Regions from separate parts of the Homo sapiens genome. Here region 1 is linked to region 2. The links are contacts of gene promoters, found by promoter capture Hi-C in blood cells and fetal thymus (Javierre and others, 2016). All regions are on one chromosome and are shown on one strand. Each heading gives the region's core, a stretch centred on a gene start or on the middle of the fragment in contact. The rest is flanking DNA. Distances are from core to core; before and after follow the strand shown. Region 1 overlaps MSRB3-AS1 (MSRB3 antisense RNA 1). Region 2 holds the start of HMGA2-AS2 (HMGA2 antisense RNA 2).

What was found. Contacts are between HindIII fragments. The CHiCAGO score rates a contact against its expected background, and 5 or more counts as called.
Region 1: a contact is called between a fragment that was not itself captured here and the fragment with the promoter of HMGA2-AS2 in region 2, in 1 of 17 cell types (M1 macrophages). The highest score is 5.2, in M1 macrophages.

What each region holds. Positions count from the first base shown.
Region 1 is chr12:65,559,149-65,563,327 of GRCh38, forward strand. All of the region lies in intron 2 of MSRB3-AS1 (MSRB3 antisense RNA 1), which reads right to left. LOC105369808 (a long non-coding RNA gene) reads left to right here. Exons shown (of 4, transcript XR_945035.3): 3 at 433-581; 4 at 824-1,850. Among named protein-coding and RNA genes, the nearest start is that of LINC02454, 42 kb to the right of the region's middle. The HindIII fragment of the contact is 1,038 bases long and covers 1,508-2,545 here.
Region 2 is chr12:65,947,395-65,952,021 of GRCh38, forward strand. It overlaps HMGA2-AS2 (HMGA2 antisense RNA 2), which reads right to left and starts at 1,313. Exons shown (of 4, transcript NR_199060.1): 1 at 1,041-1,313; 2 at 370-730. HMGA2 (high mobility group AT-hook 2) reads left to right here. Exons shown (of 5, transcript NM_003483.6): 4 at 3,989-4,021. The HindIII fragment of the contact is 7,270 bases long and covers 1,061-4,627 here.

The DNA of each region.
Region 1 (4,179 bases), core at 777-3,276, 390 kb before region 2:
CAGAAAGACCCTAAGTCCTTCTCCCATTATTATTATCATTATTATTATTACTATCATTTTGTAAGGCATGCCCACTGGGCCCTCTCCCATTATTTAAGGATTATCTGCAAGACACCTTGGACCCATTAAAAAAGTTCAGATTCAGGGGAGTGTTTCCCATGAGAAGCTATGATTTCAAATTGTCTCAAAGAAGTAGCCATTGAAGAAGAACTAGAAAAGGATAGATCAGTGATGTTGGAAGTAAAGGGGGAAGGATCTTCAGGTTTAAAGACTGTGGACACAGCATCTTTGGCTGTGTCTACACACATATGCAATTGATAGGAAGCAAATAGAACAGAAGCCAACTAAGATTTTTAGGAAACCACATTGTCAAAGACACCTCAAGCCTGCCTGAAAACAGTGTATAATTTTTATTTTTAAAACAAATTCCAGGCCTCTAGACCTGCAGTAGCATGAAGAGGTCTGAGGAAGCTGTGCGTCCCTCAAGAAAGCAATTCTTTATTGCCCATCAAAGATGAATCCATAGGGGATCATTAACAAGGAGATCATCCCAGAGAGCAGCTTCTAGAATCACCAACCAAGTAAGTCTCATTGCTATCCCTATACACCAAGGTTTGCTATTTGCTACTCATTCACAACTGTTGAGTGTTTCCCATTCTTCTATGTTTTAAACTGAAAGTTTAAAAAAAATTCTTGGTTATCCCGTTTCTTCTTTACATTTGCATAATGGGGAGTGGGTGTTGGGAGATAGCTTGTCTTTGAGCTTTGGGCTTTTAGTAGCAATAGTTTTTTTTAACAATTAGCATTACCGTTACTATTTAAGACAGAAGATTTGTCAGAAGAACAAAGACCTCAAAATGAGAAGGAATGTGTTCTGGACTTAAAACATTGCTCAGGTATCTTAGCAAGGACTGAGACCTTGGAGGTCTCCAAATACCAGTAAGAATCATTGTGTTATCCTCTTTCTCACATGTTGGATTTTTTTTTTTTTTTTTACTTGTGATTGATGAACTGGGAGAAAGGAAGTGGTCTAGAAAGGGTGAGAGTGGGTGGGTAGATAGGATACAGGTGGCCTCACCTGGAGAGTGGTCACCTGTGAACAGAAGCCATGTTGAACTCCCTGCACTGCCTCTTCTTCTCTGTTCCTTGCAATGACCTTTAGCTGGACTCAGTCAAAACGGCGCTGTCCTTCCCCTTCCCAACCTAAAGCTTATAGTGCAGTTAATCTAGAGGTCAGCTGAAGTGCAGATTCAAGTGGCTCAAACCCCTTTGCAGTATAGGGAAGGAGTCTGGAATAGGGAAAGGATGGGTTGGGGGTGAAGATGGGAGTTGCTCATGGCTTCCCTAATTAGCTCTGATTCAGAGCTCAGACTTCTGTTATCATTTCCTACCCACAAGTGCTGTCTTATTCCTTTGGTTTCCTTCATTTCTATTCAGCCTCATGAAATAAAGAAATAAAGAAAACAAACAAGTAAATAAAAACAAGATCTTTATGGATGTGGCAGAAAGCTTTGCAAGCCAAGAAAGTCTTCTATCCAGGTGATGCAAATAACTGTAAAACTTCAGACTTCTTGAACTACAAAGATGAACTCTGCCAACCCAAGTTCTAGTACTTCCTCTACTCCCAGCCTGACCCCCACTGTTTCTTGGTTTCCTCACTCCTTCTCTTTCTGTTTGACTCTTGAGAGTAATAAACTCAGCCAAGTCCTACTACTTGAGCCCATATTTAAATGCAGAACAATTTGGCCTTCAGTTTATTCTTCCCCCTTCTTCCAGACTCTGGTCTGATTTATCTTTTTATACTCTATAGCCTATTAGGGTTTTATAATAAAGGCTATCCTTCTCTAAGATTTCCAATGTAGCTATTATCCTTTAACCCTTCTGCACAGTTAACAAAACCAGTTGTTACTTTTTTTGGTGGGGGGTGGGGGTGGTTGTTTAGCATTTAGTGATTATTAAAATGACTACTGTTTCAGCAAAAAGTATTCATAAAAAAACTCAAAAAATTCAGAAAAGTACAAAGGAGAAATTGAATAATCTGTAGCATCTCAAACTCAGTATATGTCTAAGGACAGTCTCTGTTCTCCCCTGGTCTTATTCACGCCCTTCAAGCCCTTCTCTCTAATCAAGGAACAATTGGCTTGACTTTTCTAGCTTACCTCACTTAATTTTAGAGAAATATATATCCTGTTTGAGATCCAAAGAGGCATTTGTCAGCATTAAGGGTCTCCCTTATCTCCATCCATGCTCACAATATTTGGCAGGTATACTTCAGAGTTTGTGGTTTGGGATTATAGCTGTTTCCTCACTTCATTCATGATAGGGAGATGTTTTGTCCTTCTATTTTTGTTCCATTTATTGTTTTCATTGGATTTTTAGAAAGGGGAATGGCATAAGTGTTTTTACTCTGCTGTCTTTAACAAGAAGACTTACTTTTCAAAATAATTATTTGTCTGCTTTTAATTTTCTACTTCAAGAAAACGTTAAGGAAAGAATGTATAGCATTCTAGTTAATTTTCAGTTGCTTAGGTGCCTGATAAAGAGAAGCTTCCCTAAACAGCAGCCAGTTCTGTTCTGAAGATGGCCTTCCCATGGCACCAGTACCCTGGTTAGAATTTTCCCAGGGAGAGATGGCCTAGCTTCATGGGAGCTATCACCATAGATTGCCCATGCTGAGAGAACAGACCACAAACTACACCAGCTGCAGACACTTACACAGCACATGTAGGGAGAACAGAGGCTGATGCCCAAAGAACGAGAGGGATTGTACCTCAGCTGCACAGCAGCAGCAACCTGCAGAGAAAGACAACCTGCAAGTTTATACAGCCCTCCTCCTGCCTCCATGAGAACCTGACAGAGGCATTTGAACCAGAGCGACTCCATCTTGAATAGAGGCTGGGTAAAATAAGGCTGAGACCTACTGGGCTGCATTCCCAGGAGGTCAGGCATTCTTAGTCACAGGATGAGATAGGAGGTTGGCACAAGACACAGGTCGCAAAGACCCTGCTGATAAAACAGGATGTGGTAAAGAAGCCGGCCAAATCCCACTAAAACCAAGATGGTGATGAAAGTGACCTCTGGTCATCTACATTACTCATTATACGTTAACTATAATGCACTAGCTTGCTAAAAGACACTCTCACCAGCACCAGGACAGTTTACGAATGCCATGGTAACATTCGGAATTTACCCTACATAATCTAAAAAGGAGAGGGACCCTCAGTTTCGGGAAATCTCTGACCCCTTCCTGGAAAACTCATGAATAATCCACCCCTTGTTTATCAAATAATCAAGAAATAACTCTAAGTATACTCAATTGAGCAGCTTATACCACTGCTCTGGCTATAGAGTAGCCATTCTTTTGTTCCTTTACTTTCTTAATAAACTTGCTTTCACTTTACTGTATGGACTCACCCTGAATTCTCTCTTGCTTGAGGTCCAGGAACCCTGTCTTGGGGTCTGGATTGAGACTCCTTTCATTGAGAAAGGAGATTGAGACTAACAGATCCATAATTTCTCCATTACTTACACACTGTTTTGGGAAGAAGGAGGGAAGGGGAGATCTATAGAAAGTAGAGAATAGACTCTGATAGGGAGTTTCAGCATCAAATTGAGTGAAGGAAGCCCTCTTCCCCTTTTTTTCCACCCTGGAAGAGACTGTAACTTAGCAAGTTTATTTCCACCATTGGTGGAAATGAGAGCTTCAGAGCAAGATTAAATCAGTTACAGAAAATAAATAAGCTACTGTTTTTGTACATCTGATTTGTAAGGTGTTAATCTTGACCCTGCAACATCTGCGATTTTAGCTTCATCTTTCAGCAAAAGGCAGTCTGCTAGATGGAAAACTGTTCAGGACTGGGAGTTGACCTTCGGTTACTCCTGGCTCTGCCACTAACTAGCTGTGTGATATTGGTTAAGACACTTAGTCTTCTACTTCGAAATGTCATCAACTCTAAAATTACAAGGTTGGATCAGATCCATGATTTTCAAATGTTCATGGCTGCAGAGCCCTTTTGTTAAAACCTTACTTAGATGGCCAATATATAAAACAGATACCTCTGGCGTTTCCTCTGGCAAAGTGGGAAGTAGATGTCTGGGACCACATATGCTAGGAGGCCCCTTGGGCTCCCTGCAAAGTCCCTAAATCACCTCCACAGAGCCCTTCCCAGGTATGCACTT
Region 2 (4,627 bases), core at 63-2,562:
CCCGGCCACAGTTTCGTTTTAACATCTGTTAATCCAAAAAATTTCTTCAAAGTCCTTTGGTGATTTTGTCAATGCTGCTATTGATGTTTTGTTCTGGGAGGAAGCTCTCTTTCACCCCATTGTATTTTAGAAGTTTCAATGCAACCATGGAATGAGGATTTTCATTACAAGCTTTTTGAAAGGTGCAATAGTCTCAACATAATGAACTCAAAATCTCAGTGCATTGAAGGGTTTGCATGCCAAGTTGACCAAGTGCCTAAACTGTATAAACTCCCTATGTGCACACTTAGAATTGGATCATCAGATTTGTCTAAACAACTTGAAAGGCTTTGCTATCTGTTCACTGAACAGTCATTATGATGTACACACCTTTAAGAGGGACTCAGCCCCTCCACAACTGATAATGAAGGAAGAATCTCCAAGTGAGGTGAGGCAGCTGGACTTTGCAGGTCTGACTCTTGTCCCCTGCGATTCACTTTTCATCAGCAACCTGGAGGAATCAGAACTAGGCCCTGCTGAACAATCTGGAGATGAAAATCAAAGCCGGGAAGTACAGCTTCTCCTGGATTGGATCTCGATTTGACTTTTTTCTTTTTTCTTTTTTTCAAGGAACAGACTGGGTTTCTTCAGAGCATTATATCAGGGATTAAGAGAATCAGTAGACTCGGGTTGTTTTGGTTTTAGAAAAAGATCTCAGACGATTATTTAAATTCCCTATGCCTTGGTTTCCCTGTGAGAAAATGAAAACAGTAAGGCCTGGACCCTCCCAGTAACAAAGGGGCAGATGTTAAAAATATAAAGGATTCTAGCTTTCATATAGGAAATGCATGTGCAAAATATTACTCATTTATTAAGGTGCATGAAAATTTACTGTTAACAACACAGAAGACTAATATGTATCATTGATGTTATTCAGGTCTTATAAAACTCTAGTGGCCAGTCGTGTTTTTAATGCCAAGAACCCCGAGGAGCAACTGGTTTCTAAGAATCAACACTTAGTTCTGAGCCGAGAGATGCCCCAAGGAAGATAAGAGACTTACAGTTTGTTTGGCGTCCAAAAAGCTTTCCAGACAGCAGTTTGTTTCCTTTCCCTTTTTATGAATGGTGGTAGTATTATGCTTCAGTCTGCGTTTTCTACCAAAGCCATTCATAAAAATAAAAACAAAACAAAATAACAACAACAAAAACTTTCTCGGCACAGTCTGGAGCCATTGGGTGCCAGAGGCTGGGAAAACATCCTGGCAGCCATAACCCCAACCAACATTGAAAGTATTCAAGGGTCTGTTTGTTTGGTGGTCTGAAAAGTATGAAGTGCTGTGTCTGAGGGTAGCTGGTAGAAGTTCCGTGACACGGACTAGGCCGGGAGCCAGGGCTGGCAGAGATTCAGACATTGTCTTTCCCCTCATTGAAGTGTCAGGACCTAATTCATGGAAAATTGGGTGAGCTGGCAGCTCTTTCAGAGGATTTCATTGAGCTGCAGTGTGCAGGAGTCACATGAATGCGGGAGCCTCTGCCAAAAAAGGAGGGGGATTTCTGAGCAGTAGGAACCAGTCAGCCTGCAAGAATGTATGTGGATTTGAAACGGTTTGGGAGTAAACATGTGTACAGGTGTAATCAACAGGGAAAAATGGGAGGAAGATGAGTGCTCTCTTCTTCCAAATGACCCTTTGGAAATGAATCCTCTATTAGCCCACGCTTTTGTGTCCTAAGAGGCAAGAAGTCCTCATCGTTCTTGGTTCGATTTTCCCTGGAGAAAACATCATCTCAAAACTTGGGCTTTTGTGATGACGTCATCTTTACTGTGATTTAAAGTCAAATGGAAGAACGTCTTTTCCTTTGAGCAAAAGTACCTTGCCATTTATTTTATTTTTATTCTGTCCATCTAAAAAAAAAAAGCTCTAATGATTTTTATATGGAATTTTTAATGTACCAGCAATAAACCACTGTACCACTGAGAGGAACTCTGAGAGGAAGGGGCTCTCAGAATGAATGAACAGGGGCTAGTGAATAGTGAACGTATCCTAAGTGCTGTTATTTGGGAGAACTGGTGCAAGAAAGCATGTCGCTATCCACATCAGAGTACCTCAGGTGTACTCACAAATCTCAGCGATGTGTAGATAGAATAATACATGCCTATATTCAGACATGAGAGTGAGGACTGGAAGCAAATAATCCATCGAAAAGCTCAGGCTTCAAATCCATCTTTTATAATGCCAAAGAAATAAGAAGTATTCTCTAATACTCGATTGGAAAGTTAGGCAGGCAGAAAAACATTCCCTCGGATGTTTCACTCAAAAGAGGAGAGTTTTGCTCTACACATACAATAGATACAGATATAACACAATATAACACAATATTCTTCCCATGATACCACGAAGAAACTGAACAAACTCACAGAATTATTTGCAAATCATAAGGGACTTGAATGCAAAACATTAAAAGAACTCTTACAACTTTGTTATGAAGAGATAGCAAATTTTTTTTAAATGGGCAAAGGATTTAAATAAACATTTCTTCCCAGGAGACATATAAATGGCCAATAAGCACATGAAAAGATGCTCAACATCATTAGTTGTGAGAGAAGTTCAAATTGAAACAGCAATGATGTTTAACTTCACATCCACTTGGATGTCTACAAGCAAAAAGACAGGCAATAACAAGCATTGGCATGTATACGGAGCAATTGGAACTCCAGATTCATTGCTGGTGGGACGGACTGCAAAATGGTACAGCTGCTTTAGAAAGCTGTCTGGCAGCTCCTCAAAAAGTGAAACAAAGAATTACAATATGAACCAGCGATTCCACTCCCAGGTACATACCCAAGAATGAAAACATGTTCGCACGAAAACGTGTATATAAATGTTCATAGTAGCATTATTCATAATAGCCAAAGGGTGGAAACACCCCAGATGTCCACCAACTAATGAATGGATAGGTAAAATGTGGTATACCCATACAAGGGAAAATTATTTAGCATGAAAAGGAATGAACTGCTGATGCTACCACATGGATGACCCTAGAAAACCCTAGGCCAGTGAAAGAAGCCACACACAAAAGACTCTACATATATAGTATGATTCCACTTACATGAAATGTCAGGATAGGTAAATTCATAGAGACAGAAAGTAGATTCATGGTCACTTAGGCATGGGAGGTGGCTAGGGACGTGGAGGGTAGTGGGGAGTAACCACTAATGGGTACAAGATTTCTTTTAGAGGAGATGAAAGTGTTCTAAATTAGACTGTGGTGATGGTTGCACAACCCTCTGAATATACTAAAATATACTTTAAATGAGTGAATTATGTGGTATGTAAATTATGTCTCAGTGAAGGTGTTTTAAAAAAATAAAATATTAACAAATTAGGTACCTTCACTCCTCAGTTTTGTGATATATAGGCTAAAAACAAAGTGAATCAAACAGTTAAGTTTCTTTCAAGCTAGTTGGCTTGTATGCCAGAATTTAATTGGGAATTGGAATTGTTTTCACTGAGATAACCTATGTTGTATTTCCTTAATATAGAGAGATCATGAATAGACATTTTTGTTTTTTTTGAGATAGGGTGTTGCTCTGTCACCCAGGCTGGAGTGCAGTGGCATGATCACGGCTCACTGCAGCCTTGACCTTTCTTGGCCCAGGTGATCCTTCCATTTAGGCCTCTGAGTAGCTGGGACTACAGTTGCAACGCCACCACACCCTGTTAATTTTTGTATGTTTGTAGAGAGAGGGTTTCACCATGTTGCCCAGCCTGGTCTACAACTCCTGGGCTCAAGCCATCCGTCCGCCTCTGCCTCCCAAAGCGCTGGGATTATAAGCGTGAGCCACCATGCCTGGCCAAGTATAAACACTTTTAACATTGGATATACCAGTTGAACTTTATACTTTCCTCTTTCCTTTGCAGACAAGTATCTGTATTTAAAATATGTACACCTAATTTTTTCTATAATGTATATTTTCTTTTAAAATATATCTTTTTCTTTTCCTCCTTAGCCACAACAAGTTGTTCAGAAGAAGCCTGCTCAGGTAAGACATAGTCATTAATTTTTTTCTCCCAATTAATATAAAAAGTGAAATATGTACTGAAAAATGTCCCCAAACTAAACCTTATTTCGCATTTTCTTACTTTTGGTTATCGTCCTGCAGTATTCCTGAAAATGTGTTGTAGCCTTCAAAGTTAGGAATATATAGTCTGCAATCGTACCATGAAAACCTCCCAAAATGTAAGGTCTTAAGTGTACAAAGCAAATATAAATTCTTTTAAAAATAAAACTATTTTATTACATTGCCTCATATGTAAAACAAATATTTAATCTTATCCTATATTTTACCAATTCTTAAACATCAAATTTTGTCCTTCCAACTGACTGTCTATATTCTGTTGACACCAGACTTATATTTAATGATTCATGACTGGAAACATATTTCTTCATTGAACAATTTCATAATATTTGATGATCCCAAAACACTCCAAAGAATGCTAGAATACTTGGAAATTAAGTTATACTAACGTGCAGACTGATGCATTCTTAGATCTTATTTAAATAACTGAATCACAGTCTCTGAAGTTTTTGGCAACATCAAATTGGAAAATAGCTCTACGTCTCTTGCCCCATATTCCTGGAGCACCTT